Regions from separate parts of the Homo sapiens genome. Here region 2 is linked to region 1. The links are contacts of gene promoters, found by promoter capture Hi-C in human tissues and cell types (Jung and others, 2019). All regions are on one chromosome and are shown on one strand. The core of a region is centred on a gene start or on the middle of the fragment in contact, and the rest is flanking DNA. Distances in the headings are between cores, read along the strand shown.

What was found. Contacts are between HindIII fragments. The study calls those that stand out against the background at their distance.
Region 2: a fragment that was not itself captured here is called in contact with the fragment with the promoter of WDR73 in region 1 in 2 of the 25 tissues and cell types used here (IMR-90 fibroblasts and bladder).

Annotation. Positions count from the first base shown.
Region 1 is chr15:84,650,755-84,658,075 of GRCh38, reverse strand. WDR73 (WD repeat domain 73) reads left to right here and starts at 3,793. Exons shown (of 8, transcript NM_032856.5): 1 at 3,793-3,842; 2 at 4,377-4,444; 3 at 5,274-5,362. The coding sequence starts at 3,802. NMB (neuromedin B) reads left to right here. Exons shown (of 3, transcript NM_021077.4): 1 at 1-80; 2 at 728-900; 3 at 2,667-2,944. The coding sequence ends at 2,702. RefSeq lists enhancers at 3,807-4,046, 3,473-4,440. The HindIII fragment of the contact is 11,541 bases long and covers 1-7,321 here.
Region 2 is chr15:85,175,530-85,182,850 of GRCh38, reverse strand. It overlaps the pseudogene NIFKP8. Among named protein-coding and RNA genes, the nearest start is that of PDE8A, 200 kb to the right of the region's middle. The HindIII fragment of the contact is 3,731 bases long and covers 1,012-4,742 here.

The DNA of each region.
Region 1 (7,321 bases), core at 2,544-5,043:
GCTCAGCTGGGATCTCCCGGAGCCCCGCAGCCGAGCCAGCAAGATCCGAGTGCACTCGCGAGGCAACCTCTGGGCCACCGGTAAGTCTTTGGGGACGGAGCAAGCAAGCGCCCCTCATCCAGTTCAGACCCCATTTCCTTCTCAACCCTCTGGCCGCTCCTCAGCCACGGACACTAGTGTCGGAGCAGGTGGAAAACCCTGGGGCTCATCTAATTTAATAGATATGTACTTGAGACCCGGACAGGTCAGTGACTTGGCTAAGGTCGCGCAGCCAGTTTAAGACAGGGCTGGGCTAGATCCTAAATCCCACTGCCAGCCGGTGCCCCTTACCTTAGGCGAGACTTAACCGAATCTTCTAACCGCTGGTGTGTTTTTGCTGCACCTCCACTTTCCAGGCGCCTCTTCACTCTCCACTTCCTACCCTGCCCTTTTTCGTCCCTTGTCCAAGCAGCCCACACAACTAGCAGAGTTTCTCCCTGGCCCTGGACCATCCCACCTTCCTGCCAGCTGTGCCATCCTCTCTACCTGTTCAGGAAAAGCTGAGGGAGCAGGCTTTGCCACCACCCAGACACCTTTGTGGCTCCTTGGTGAGGTGGAAGCACCAAGAGGAGGAAGGTTAAGTGTCTTCCCGCTACAAGAACGGAAACGTGGGAGAGATGAGGAACTTTTCCTCTGAGGTAGGATCCTGGCTGCTTGACTTCCTTGTGCCTGGACACCTCCTTTCCAGGTCACTTCATGGGCAAGAAGAGTCTGGAGCCTTCCAGCCCATCCCCATTGGGGACAGCTCCCCACACCTCCCTGAGGGACCAGCGACTGCAGCTGAGTCATGATCTGCTCGGAATCCTCCTGCTAAAGAAGGCTCTGGGCGTGAGCCTCAGCCGCCCCGCACCCCAAATCCAGGTGAGCCGGGCCCCTGCTCCAATGTCAGGAGGGCCCAGCTGGGGCCATCCCCGGATCCTGCATGGGAGGAATTACCACCCAGTACTGTATTAGGGTGTGACTGTCTGACTAGGACATTATGGGTGTGGACCCCAGAAAGCCAGGTTTCCAGGCTTTTCCCTCTTGAGGCAGAGCTCAAAGGAGGAACAGTCCAAAGAAAGGAAGCTGACCTTCCCAGTAGACCCCATGGGGCAAGAAGTAGGGAAAGAAGTTCCCCTGACTCATCACCCAGTCTAAAGTAACAGACTGGGATCATCAGCCTTTTGGAGCAGGACCTTTCTCCCCCAGTCTACACAGTCTTGTCCCACCCATGCTGTTCCCTGCTGCATTAGTCAAGTCCACCTTTGCTGTGTCCTGTGTATGCTTGTGGCCGGAATGGGACCCTGAGGCCCAGAGAGGGAAAGAGAAGTCAGCAGCCAAGACAGAGTCTGGACCTTGTTCACCTGGACTGGAGCTCTTCCCATTCTCTCATCTGCCTCAGTATCCAGTGGTAGGGTTTAGCAACTTCAGTACATTTGACGTTCTAGGCTGAATCACTGTTTCTTGTGAGGGCTGACGTGTGCATCATGGGATGTTTGGCAGCATCCCTGGTCTCTACATACTAGATGCCAGTAGCATCTTTCCCCCCCATCAAGTTGTGACAACTGAAAAGACCTCCAGACATCACCAGATGTCTGCTGGGGGAGAGGGCCCCAAATCATTATTGGTTGTCAGTCACTGATCTATGGGATTCAAGACTCCAAAGCTGGAGCCAAGCTAGCCTCAAGGTATAGCCCCGCTGAGTGGCAACTCCTTCATTCCCTGCTCCTGGTGCTGTCCTTACTGCACACCACCCTCCCTGGTCCTGCTGCTGTGTGCAGAAGGCAGTGTGATGTGGTAGAATGTGGGTTTTGACTACAACGTGCTGGGCTCATAACCTAGCTACTTAGTAGCTGTATGACCTTAGAAATGTCCCTTAACTTCTCTAAAGCCTCAATATTCTTCACCCATAAAATGAAGATAATAAGGCCCATCTCCCATTAAATGAGACCATTTATGTCAAATGCTCAGCATGGTGCCTGGCTCATAGACAGCCCTTAGTAGATGCGAGCTCTTATCAGTCTGTGAGCTCCCTGGCGGCACCTGTTGTAGACTCGCCTTCATATCCCCCAGTGTGCCTAGCATATAGTGTGTGCATTTTGAAGGGAGAGGCATTCCCTAGAAAAGGTCCAACCCAGCCTCAACCAACATCCCTGACTTCCTGAGGCACAGAACCAGCAGCCCCTGAGGACCTCAGATGTAAGGCCTAGGAGCTTGGGCTGGCTGAGTCTGAAGGGAAACAATGTCACCTCTAATGCCCTTGGTTTTGAAGCTCTGACACATGCAGACCAACTAGAGAATCTCAGAAGCAGCAGTGCCTACGTCTGGGGCTTCAGAGTGAGGTCTGGGGCAGAGCTGGGGTGGGGGAGTGAGGACGCTGACACTAGCCCAGCACCAAGCACTGTATTTGGATTTTCTTCCACGATCTTCTTTGACTGTCATGACCACCCTGGGTGGTTGGGGCTGTGTTCTGAGAAAACTACTGCCCCGACCCCTCCAAGGCAATTCAGGGTGCTCTGGGGCCTGCCTCAGCTGACAGCCTGCTGGTGCCCACCTCTGCAGACATCTGGCACTTAGGAATGGCAGGATGCCCCTATCTTTATCAGGAGCCCCTCCCTGGCTCAATTCTTCTGTATGTTTCTCTTCAGTACAGGAGGCTGCTGGTACAAATACTGCAGAAATGACACCAATAATGGGGCAGACACAACAGCGTGGCTTAGATTGTGCCCACCCAGGGAAGGTGCTGAATGGGACCCTGTTGATGGCCCCATCTGGATGTAAATCCTGAGCTCAAATCTCTGTTACTCCATTACTGTGATTTCTGGCTGGGTCACCAGAAATATCGCTGATGCAGACACAGATTATGTTCCTGCTGTATTTCCTGCTTCCCTGTTGAATTGGTGAATAAAACCTTGCTCTTTACATACAATGCCTGGTCCTCTCCTTTCACCCGTCTTTTAGGGGATGGGAGGAAAAGGGGGCTGGAGGGCAGAGTGTTCAGTGAGATGGGGCTGGCTCAAAAAGTCCAGAATACCCCATGCCATGGCACCAGCCTGGCACTGACTCTGGCCTCCTACCCATTCATTCAGCAAGCAAATAACGCCTGTTGCATGCCAGGCTTCGTGCCAGGCGCGGGGTTCTACTCTCATCTCTGCCACCTACTGGCGCAGGCAAGTGTCACTAGTTTCCTCGCTAGTAAAAGGGGGCTGCAGACACTACACTGCCGGGCTTTACTCAATACCCCCGCCGGACTTGGAGGGGAGCGCCGAGTTGGGATCCAGACCCTGCCGGCCGCTTCCTCTCTTCTCTGGCCGTCAGAAGGGTTGCCAGCGTTAGCAAATAAAAATACTGGACACCCAGTTAAATTCGAATTTCAGATAAACAATAATTTTATCTAATAAAATGTACCAAATATTGCATGAACATACTCGTAAGAAAGAAATTATTCACCGTTTTTCTGAAATTCGAATTTAACCGGGCGGTCCTGTATTATTTCTGGCCTTGGAGCATTCATTGCCCCTCTCTTGGGCTGCAAACACCTGGCCCTAAAACGGGCGATCATTTGGTCCTCAGGTCCTGCTTGGAGCTGACAGCGGGAAAGTCCCGATTTCAGGTCACTTTTCCCGGAGCTTTCGCGGAGAAAACCCGTAACCCACCCATGCCGGGCCGCAGCTCAGCCTGTTAACCCCGCCCCTAACGGGAGGCCCTGCCCACATCTCGCGAGAGCCGCGCGGCCCCCGAAGGCTCGCAGGCGGAAGTGAGACGCCGGAAGCGGTCGTTGCCATGGATCCTGGGGACGACTGGCTGGTGGAATCCTTGCGCTTGTAAATCGTACGGGGCTGGGACATGGGAGCTGGGCCTGGAGCTTGCCTGGCGGGCGGATGGGTGTGGGTGGAGGCACGTTGGGGATCCTGGTGCAGAGTGGGCCAGCTGTGGCCTCGGGGCTCGCCACCGTGGAGGACTCCGCCTGGGCCTAGGCCCCCATCTCTAGGAAATGGCTCCTTCCTGCGTGCGCGCGTTGTGAGATTACTAGTAAGAGCCGCGCTTGTGAAGACGCAGTGCCCAGTTAGTTTGCGCCAGCCTCTGAGTTCAGCTCAGAACACAGATGATCTCATTGATTCCTCACGTCAACCTTGGGAAATCTGGGTACCCTGGGACGTCCACACATGAGGACCGAGGCTCAGGGACATCAAGGGACTGGCCTGGTCCCAGAAACAGGGAGTAAAATGGGAAGTAAACTCAGTCCCACGTCTGCCTGACTCCAGAGTTTGGGCCACTGAACCATGCGGCTGCCATCTTGGAGTTCTTTGAGCTGTGAAGTGCTGTGCATCGTGTGATTCTGTGTCCCTTTTGTGCAGGTACCAGGATTTCTATGCATTCGACCTGTCAGGAGCCACTCGAGTCCTTGAATGGATTGATGACAAAGGTGGTATACCTTTCTAGCCCTGAAGGAGAGGGAATCTCACTCCTGAGCTGGGTTTCAGGAGCTAAGCCTAGAGGGACCCAACCCACTCTTCTGGGCACCTGAGAGTCACTTGTAGCAATTTGATGCCCCATCAGCACTAATATTCCTCTTATTAAGATCTCTGACCGGGAGCAGTGGTTCACGCCTGTAATCCCAGCACTTTGGGAGGCCGAGGCAGGCGGATCACCTGAGGTCAGGAGTTCGAGACCAGTCTGGCCAACATGGTGAAACCCCGTCTCTACTGAAAATACAAAAATTAGCCGGACGAGGTGGTGCACACCTGTGTACCAGCAGCTACTGGGGAGGCTGAGGCAGGAGAATCACTTGAACCCAGGAGGTGGAGGTTGCAGTGAGCTGAGATCACGACACTGTATTCCAGCGTGGCTAACAAAAAAAGTCTTCAGGCTGGGCACTTCAGGAGGCTGAGGCAGCGGGCAGATTGCTTGATCCCAGGAATTTGAGACTAACCTAAGCAAGGAAACCCTGTCTCTACAAAAAATACAAAAATTAGCCGAGCATGGTGGCTCACGCCTATAATCCCAGCTACTCTGAAGGCTGTGGTGGGAGGATCACTTGAGCCTGGCAGGTTGAGGCTGCAGTGAGCTGTGATCGGACCACTGCACTCCAGCCTGGCTGACACAGCGAGACCTTGTCTGAAAAAGACACAACCAGGTACTCAATTCCTCCATACAAGGCTGCACAGTGAAGGAATGTATCCTTACTTCGGGGGATTGCATGGTCTGCAATCTTTCTAACAATTTGTGACAGCTACCTCTGCTTCTTTTTCCAGGAGTCTTTGTTGCTGGCTATGAAAGCCTGAAAAAGAATGAAATTCTTCATCTGAAATTACCTCTCAGACTTTCTGTAAAGGAAAACAAGGTAACTTAAAATATAAATGCTGAGTATGTCAACTTTTATTTATTTATTAAACATTTGTGGAGCTCCTGTTATCTACCAGGTATTGTCCTGGATACTAGAAAGAGAGAAAGCGCTAGGCCTGCCCTTCTAGTCTAACAGAGGGAGGCACATATGCACAGAGATAAATGCTGTAGAATGTCTCGTGGTTTACAGAGGGCTATCAGAGGAGGAGGTCAGTTATACTTTATCAGAAATAGATTTAGGGAGCGATTAAGGATATAGAGGGCGGTCGAAATGCGTAGAGTGATTAAAGTCACCTAGTGAATGTGTGGTATATAAGGAGTGAGGAGAATATAGTGAGGACGGAACCTCAGGGAACACATTTAAGGGATGAGTACAGGAAGATGCACCCCCCCTCCCCAAAGAATACTAAGAAAGAACAGCCTCTGAGGTAAGAGGAATCTCAGAAAAGGTCAATGTTTCTGAAGCCAAGAGAAGAGAACTTCTCAAGAAAAAAAGAGTTAGTAGCTGTCTAGAGTTCCAATAAAATCATTGAGAGAAGAATTGAAGGCCAGGTGCAGTGGCTTACGCCTGTAATCCCAGCACTTTGGGAGGCCGAGTTGGGCGGATCATGAGGTCAGGAGTTCGGGACCATCCTGACCAACATGGTGAAACCCCGTCTCTACTAAAAATACAAAAATTAGCCAGGCATGGTGGCGCACACCTGTAATCCCAGCTACTCAGGAGGCTGAGGCAGGAGAATTGCTTGAACCCGGGAGGCGGAGGTTGTAGTGAGCTGAGATCGTGCCACTGCACTCCAGCCTGGGCAACAGCAAGACTGCATCTCAAAAAAAAAAATCATTCAGATGAGGAATTGAGTTCATTCATAAGACTGGCAATTGGGAAACTCTTGGTGACCTCTGCTACAGGATTTTTGCTGGTGGTGGTCAGGCCCAAAGACTAAAAATGAAGAGGAAGCAGAGTCACGAAATGTAGGGAGGGAAGAAGCTAAAGCAGCAACTAGTCGGAAACACAGATCTGAGGGAAGGTTTCCTAAACACAGAGGCTTGAGCAGAGTTAGAAGCTATGGGAAAGTAACCCTTGAAGAGGGAGAGGGTGAAAATGAGGGAATATCACAGGGAACACGCTCCTGCTTCCAGGAATAGAAGGTGAGGATAGATCAGGAGTCCAGGGGATGGTATTAGTCATCAGAGGACAAGGGAGGAGTGAGGCATGCAGGCAGATGACCTTGAAGGGCCATGTGGGGGCAGGAATTTGAGTGTTTGCTCCTGAATTCCTTTTTGTTTTGAGACAAGGGCTTGCTCTGTCACCCAGGCTGGAGTGCAGTGGCGCGATCCCTGGCTCACTACAGTCTAAACCTCCCAGGCTCAAGTGATCCTCCCGCCTCAGCCTCCCAAGTAGCTGGGACTACAGGCATGTGCCACCATGCTTGGCTAATTGTTAAATTTTTTTGTAGAGATGAGGTTTCACTGTGTTGGCCAGGCTGGTCTCGAACGCTTGGCTTCAAGTGATCCGCCTGCTTCGGCCTCCCAAAGTGCTGGGATTACTGGCATGAGCCATCACTCCTGGCCCCAAACTTCTTAAAAAAATTTTTTTTTTTTTTTGAGGTCTCACTCTGTCACCTAGGCTGGAGTGCAGTGGCGCGATCTCAGCTCACTGCAACCTCTGCCTCCTGGGCTCAAGCCATCCTCCCACTTCAGCATCCCGAGTAGTTGGGACCACAGGCATGTGCCACCACACCTGGTTAATTTTTGTATTTTTTGGTAGGGACGGGGTCTTGCCAAGCTGTTCTCAAACTCCTGAGCTCAAGCAATCCTCCTGCCTCCCAAAGTGCTGGGATTCCAGGTGTGAACCACCGCACTTGGCCTTTTTTATTTTGTTTTGTTTTAAATTATTTAATGAAATAGGAAACAATCCGAGTGCGGTGACTCATGCCTGTAATCCCAGCACCTTGGGAGC
Region 2 (7,321 bases), core at 1,628-4,127, 530 kb before region 1:
AAATCCAATAAAACTAACTTTTAATAATCCTGAGGTTGGTTTTTGAAACAATAGATACAATTATTTACTCTAAGCATCTGGTTATGATTTTGAATCAGTAATACATACTGTCTACACCCTTTTTTTTTTTTAAAGGAAACAGAGGTTTCATCCAGAAAACCCCAAAACAGTGAATTTTTTTTTTAGACAGGGTGTCACTATGTCTCCCAGGCTGTAGTGGAGTGGTGGCTCTCAGCTCACTGCAGCCTCAACCCCCCACCTCAGCCTTGCGAGTAGCTGGGACCACAGGCGCCACTGTGCCCGGCTAACTTATTGTATTTTTTGTACAGATGGGGAATTGCCGTGTTGCCCAGGGTGGTCTCAAACTTCTAGGCTCAAGTCATTCACCCACTTCAGCCTCCCAAAATGCTGTGACTACAGGCGTGGGCCACCGTGCCCAACCTGCAGTGACTTTTTAAAACATAAGTTCAAGCATCTCTTCTTAACTCCTTTAATTGGACGTATCTCTTCTCTTATTGTCCTCATCTTTGGTGTTCCGCCAGAGTTCACTGCTGACTGGATGTACAACATGTATTTCAAAGTCAAGGCTGGGTGCGGTGGCTCACACCTATAATCCCAGTGCTTTGGGAGTCAGGGCAGGCAGATCGCTTGAGTCCAGGAGTTCTAGACCAGCCTGGGCAACATGGTGAAACCCTGCTTGTATTAAAAATACAAAAAAATGGGCATTTCCGGGAGCGCTGCCTGGAGTTGGTGTCCCCGCTTTTGGCATGGTGGCCTTTTCCAACCTGGCTGGGCCAATCCAGTCACTGAACCTGAAGGAAGATGCCAAGTTTCAGAAGAAAGTGGCACAGGTTCGCAAGCACATAACCCAGTGAAAAAAACAAGAACAGCTTACTCCTGGAGTAGTCTATGTGTGCCACCTACCTAACCTACTGAACAAAACCCAGATCCTTTCCTATTTCTCCCAGTGTGGCACTGTTACAAGGTTCAGACTATCCAGAAAGAAAAGGACTGGAAATAGCAAAGGCTATGCATGTGTGGAGTGTGAGTCTGAGGATATTGCCAAGATAGTTGCTGAAACGATGAACAACTACCTGTTTGGTGAAAGACTCTCAGAGTGTCATTTTATGCCACCTGAAAAATTCAAAAAGAACTCTTTAAAGACTGGGATATTCCATTTAAGCAGCCATCATATCTGTCAGTGAAACAGCATAATCAGAATCGGCACTTACACAAAAGCTGCGAATAGAGGGACGATTTAAAAAGAAAGAAAGATTACTCAGGAAGAAATTAGCTTATAAAGGAATTGATTATGATTTTCCTTCTTTGATTTTACAGAAAATGGAAAGTATTTCAAAAACGAATCATCTGATGTCTACAAAAGGCCACGTTTTACGTAAGAAGAAGAAAAAGGTTTTAGGCATTCCTGACACTCCTGAGAAGACTGTGGATACCCAGGGCCCCACACCGGTTTGTACATCAACATTTTTGGAGAGACAAAAATCTGAAGTGGCTGAAATGAATGATGATGATGAAGATAATGAAATAGTTTTTGAAAAGCCCATATCCTGTGTAAAAGAAGAAATACAAGAGACTCAAACACCTACACATTCACAGAAAAAAAGACAAAGCATTCAGTGATTTTCAATATATTATATATAAGATTTCTTCTGAAAAATATAATGTTTTTATGAGAAAAATACAAAAAATTAGCTGGGCGTGGTGGATCATGGCTGTAGTCCCAGCTACTTGGGAGGCTGAAGTGGCAGGATCACCTGAACCTAGGAAGTTGAAGCTACAGTGAGCCATGATTGCGCCACTGCACTCCAGCCAAGTAAAATTACATTTATCTTAGCCTTTTCTGACTGGCTTAAGTGGGATCTGTATTAAGAATACAATAGGCAATCTCACAGACATCTAAATACAGAACTCAGCATGTGACCACACCATGGAAGGACTGTGCTGGGAGGTGATTTTCCTCTCCTGCATGCCTTCACTCTGGACTTCTGCTCCATGCTTGTGCTTTGCTCTGCAGATGGACGTTCGGCACGTGCTCCAGGCTCCTCCAGCCGCTGAGGCTTTGGCTTGCCCTGGCAGTACCCCTGGTCCCAGTGTTACTGGACCTTTCCATACAGATGCTCCTCTGCAAAAAATCTATCGAACACTCTCTGTGTCATTTCCAATGAGCAGGATAGAGAATCTGATCTGCCTAGCAGTGGGGGTGGGAGTTCCCTAGTTGTCCCTGGATTTGTAGTGCTGCCCTTTCCAGAGACTCGAGGAGGGTCCGGATATCCAAAGAGAGGATGTGGGTGGGGAATCAGTAATACAGTCTACTTCAACAAGAAAGTATAAAGTAGAGGCGGTGGCTCACGCCTGTAATCCCAGCACTTTAGGAGGCCAAGGAAGGCAGATTACTTGAGCTCAGGAGTTTGAGACCAGACTGAGCAACATGGCAAAACCCCATCTCTACTAAAAATACAAAAAATTAGCTAGGTGTGGTGGCACATGCCTGTAGTCCTGGCTACTTAGGAGGCTGAGGTGGGAGGCTTGCTTGAGCCCAGGAAGTCGAGGCTACAGTGAACCAAGATTGTGATGCCACTGCCCTCCAGCCTGGGTGATAAAGCGAGACCCTGTCTCAAAAAAAAAAAAAAGAAAGTATAAAGTGGAAGGATCTGTATGCATGATTGAAGCATCTGTATGCATGATTGAAGCATCTGTATGCATGATTGAAGTCATGTTTTCCATATTTTTTTCCACCTTGCCCTTTTTTTCTCTACAACACTGTATCTGAAGCTTTTCCCTAGGTTATCAAGTACTCATAAGCATTATTTGAATGGTTGTATCAGATCCATTATCTAGACTCATTGTCGTTATCCATCTGCAGTTGCTGGAGATACTGTCCTTTCTGCCACACTCAGTCACCCTTCTGACCTTGCTCTGTGTCCGGTTATCTACTAATACACATGCTGGTCATTTAGGACTTCAACTTAAGAATAAATAATTATCATAGTTCCTAACACTTCAAAAAGAACGTAGCTTCCTAAAAATAGAATGGCTAGGTGGTTATGATAATTTTAAAGTAAAATAGACAAATTGATATTGAAATTAACTTTTTGCTTTCTTCTTTTATCTATTTTTCACTTCTCTGTCATTTTGATGGATAGTTTCATTTGAAAGGATTTTTTTTTTCAAAATAGAAATAGCATATGACATGGGAATGGTTGAACTAGAAAGGTTCAACTTTCTAGTCATTAGTTTCCTAAGATTGTCACAAAAGCTACTGATAGTCAATCATGATTGGCCTGTATTGAAAGTGAGTTAACATTATGTACAACTTAAGCACTGTACTTTCTATCAGATACAGAAAAATTGGTGCTGTGTTTGGAAAAGTATTGGGCTAGGAGTCAGGAAGCTTGACTGTTAGTCCCAACCCTGCTTCTTCAGCTCAGCACCCCTAGGCAATAATTCAGCAGCTATTTCTTAAATACCTAATGAGTTTCAGGCTTTGTAGTTGGGCTGGGAATAAAGACATAGATATTGCTTTCATGATTCTCCAAGGCTCCCCTCCTCACCCCAGCTCTCAGTGAGCTTTCTTATGTATTGTGTAAATTTGTCTCCTAACAGGTCCCAACTCTCTCTCCAACCTGCTTCCCAGGGAAGTTGTAAGGATCAAATGAGGGAGAATATGTGTGAAAGCAAATTGTAAATGATTTTAAAATGCAATAAAAATATGACCCATGGAAAATTATTTAAAGATCCTTAGAATTTTAAATAAAGAGTACATTAACCTGAGTTCTCTATGGTTTTTATTTTAAATAGATATGAAAGTTTTACAATGAACCACTGATATGGTAGAAAATCTTAGCTTGATTATTCTCCAAGAAAATGATACAGTTGTTTGTGCGATGAATTTTCTAAAATTGCCAGCCAAATAAAACCAAAACCTCTTTTGAGTTGAGTGACTGGATCAGTCAAAGGAACGTTGACTGTGTAATGGAGAAATGTTTTCTGTGTTCACTGACAGTTTGCCTTTGTTTGATTCTAGCTGCAGCATATCGTGAGTGATGAGACCTGTGTGTAGGTGACTGAACTTTACCTGGCAGAAAATAATAATGGGGCCACCGGAGGCCAGCTGAACACACAGAACTCAAGAAGCCTCCTGGAGTCAATGTATCCGCAGAAAGCCGAGCAGCTAATGTCAGATGAGAAATGCTTTAAGGTGAGAGTTGCTCATATAGTCAAAGACCTTGCTGGTGACAATGTAAGTTGTTAGGATTCTCTGAATCAGAAGTTATAGCCAGGGTACTTTGACCCTGTAATTCTACTCCTGGAACTTTTTAGAGTTCCTAATGAGTTCACCAGAGAAATGCAAAGTGGAAGAAACCATCTTCCCGGACAATCTACTTTCTTTCTTGCCGTAAAAACAAACAAACAAAAAACTAATTATATATGATTTTTACAATTTTGTATTCTTTTTCTCTGAACATTTTTCATAGCATGCTTTGTAAATATTATTGTTAGAAAAATGTTGGTACATGAAATGCATGGTCATGGTCATTATAGAAAAGGAAATGTAGGCCTGGCACACATGGCTCACACTTGTAATCCCAGCCCTCTGGGAGGCTGAGGTGGGCAAATGGCTTGAGACTAGCTTGGGCAACATGGCAAAACCCCATCTTTGCAAAAAATACAAGAATACAAAAATTAGCCAGGTGTGGTGGCATGCACCTATAGTCCCAGCTACTCAGGAGATGGAGGTGGGAGGATCGATTAAGCCTGGGAGGTCGAGGCTGCACGTCACTGCACTCCAGCCTGGGTGGCACAGCAAGACCCTATCTCAAAACAATAAAAGAAAAAAAAATGCAGATAACCAAAAAAAAGTCACTTTAAAATTCTTTCCTGAAATTACCATTGAAGACATTTCTAGACTTTTCTGTGCTTGAGTATATATTTTGAAAGAGTTTATACTGGACAAAAGGTCTTTCACTTTTTTTTTTTTTGAGACAGGGTCACACTCTGTTGCACAGGCTAGAGTGCAGTGGTGCGACCTTGGCTCACTGCAACCTGTGCCTCCTGGGTTCAAGTGATCATCGTGCCTCAGCCATCCTAGTAGTTGGAATTACATGTGCCACCATACTGGCTAATTTTTGTATTTTTAGTAGAGATGTGTGTCAGATCCCAGGGTCCAGGTCCAGCCCATGGTGAAGTCTGAGGGGAGTGGGTGGGTGAGCAGAAAGAACAATCAGGGGGCCATAGGCAGGTGAAAGATAGTTTTATTCAGCGGCAGCTCTCATTAACAGCTTTCTTACACTAGCTCTCTTATTAGCAGCTTACTCTTCCACTGTTCGCCTGTCTCAGCTGCTTGAGCCAGCTGCCCCCACACACAGCTACGCAGCCAGCTCTCCCTTGCCTTCAGGGTAAGTGGCTTAACTCCTTCTCTCTCTGGGCATGAGCAAGCCCAGCTGTGTCCTGGCTCCCTCCCATCTGCCTGCAAGATGGACAGCTTTGGTTCTCTCTGGGTGCCAGTGCGCTCGTCATGTCAAGCCATGTTAAGCCAAACTGAGCCAAGCCCCGAAGAGCCATGTCTCTTATGGACAGCATCAACAGGGCAGTTATACCTTTTACAGACAATAGTGGCATAAAGCCAGGAATGAACTTACACAAACAGGTTATATTACAAGTGGAGCTGTGTGCTTGCACGCCAAACTCGTGAGTCATGCAGGCCTGGATATCCACCTCGGCCTATTCCTTGACCAAAGCACATCCATGTGCCTTACTATGTGGTTTTGTATGTTGGCCAGGCTGGTCTCAAACTCCTGAACTCAAGTGATCTGCCCGCTTCAGCCTCCAAGTGCTGGGATTACAGGTGTGAGCCACTGCATCTGACCTGAAATGGTGTATTTTTGCTCAATTAGCAACACTTCTGGGTCTTTAATGTCTTTTCTATGGCTACTTGATATTCACTTTATAGAGAATTAATGCCTGTATTGTTGGACATTTAAGTTGTTTCCAAGTTTTCACCATTATAACTGTATTTGTGTGTATATATTATATTCTTGCCAGGCTGTAAGCTTTACTAGCAGAGAGGAAATTTTAAAGCTTTGAAAGAACACTGAGCTAGATCTAGCTTCTGGCTCTGTGTGTTTATTGACTAGTGGTGTGCCTTGAGAAACCAGAACTCTCTGAATTTCAGTTTTGTCTCTGTGTAAATGAAGAAGGTTGAAATTAAAAAATCTCGTTTCCTTCCAGGCTCTGATCTTCTCCATGTGATTCTGATAGTTACCTCCTCTGCAGAAAGACATTAGGGTAACGGCACTGAGAATCTCAGGGTTCTGAAAGGGGAGATCCATGTGCCATCACCATTGATAGTTGTTTTTTGCAAAACATGGTTTGCTTGCCTCTATTGGTGTGTTGCTTTTAAGTATGGATTTTTAAAAATCACACAAAGAATATTAGTGGAACTCAGAATTTCAGGAACTTCATATACAATTGGTGCCATTTTAACAACACTTTTTTTGTTTTGTTTTGTTTTTGAGACAGGGTCTCACTCTGTTGCCCAGGCTGGAGTGCAGCGGTATGCAGGAATGCCAGCAGTTTTTAGCCAATACAACAGATCCCTGGAGGTCAAGGGATCCTGCTTATCACTCTGGCCTTCCTACCAATTAAGTTAATTACATCCACATTGTTGTTGATGGTGAAGTGCCACCACCTGGCATCTGCTGTTCTCACCTTCCACCATTCCCACTGACACCAAAAGCCTGGTCTCATGGCAGCATCTCCTGTTGTCGATCTTGGCCTACAAAGGATAGTGCCACTGAGTCTCTGAAAGATTCAGGTGCCTTTCTCCGTAGTGCCTTTCTTGTTAGCCTAGAGAAGGGAGTTCCTGTGAGCCCTCCAAGGGCACATGGTCAAGTGGTGGATTCCGAATCTGCTGGCATATAACGAACCATCCCAACATTCCTACCTCCCTGTACTTTCCAGCTTCTTTGATGCTTTGGGAATGCAGTTGTATAATCTCCACCTAATTCACTGCAGCAACTGTTACGTCCACATTTCAAGGAGCCACTCCAGCAGTGTGTTAGATCCTCCGGTGTCCTTGCCAAGCCATTAAATCCTGAGAGTGCTCCCAGGTCAGTGTATTCTCATGTGTACAGCCTTTAGTCTCCCCTTGGTCCAACACCCTTATGTTCACTTCTCCACCTCCTCTCCCAGATTCTGCCAGTACACACTAGGCAGCCCCTGCAACATTTTTGGCAAAAAAATCATTTTCCCAGAGCAGGTTGTGCTTGTGACCTTGGGCCATGATGAGGAATGACCATAG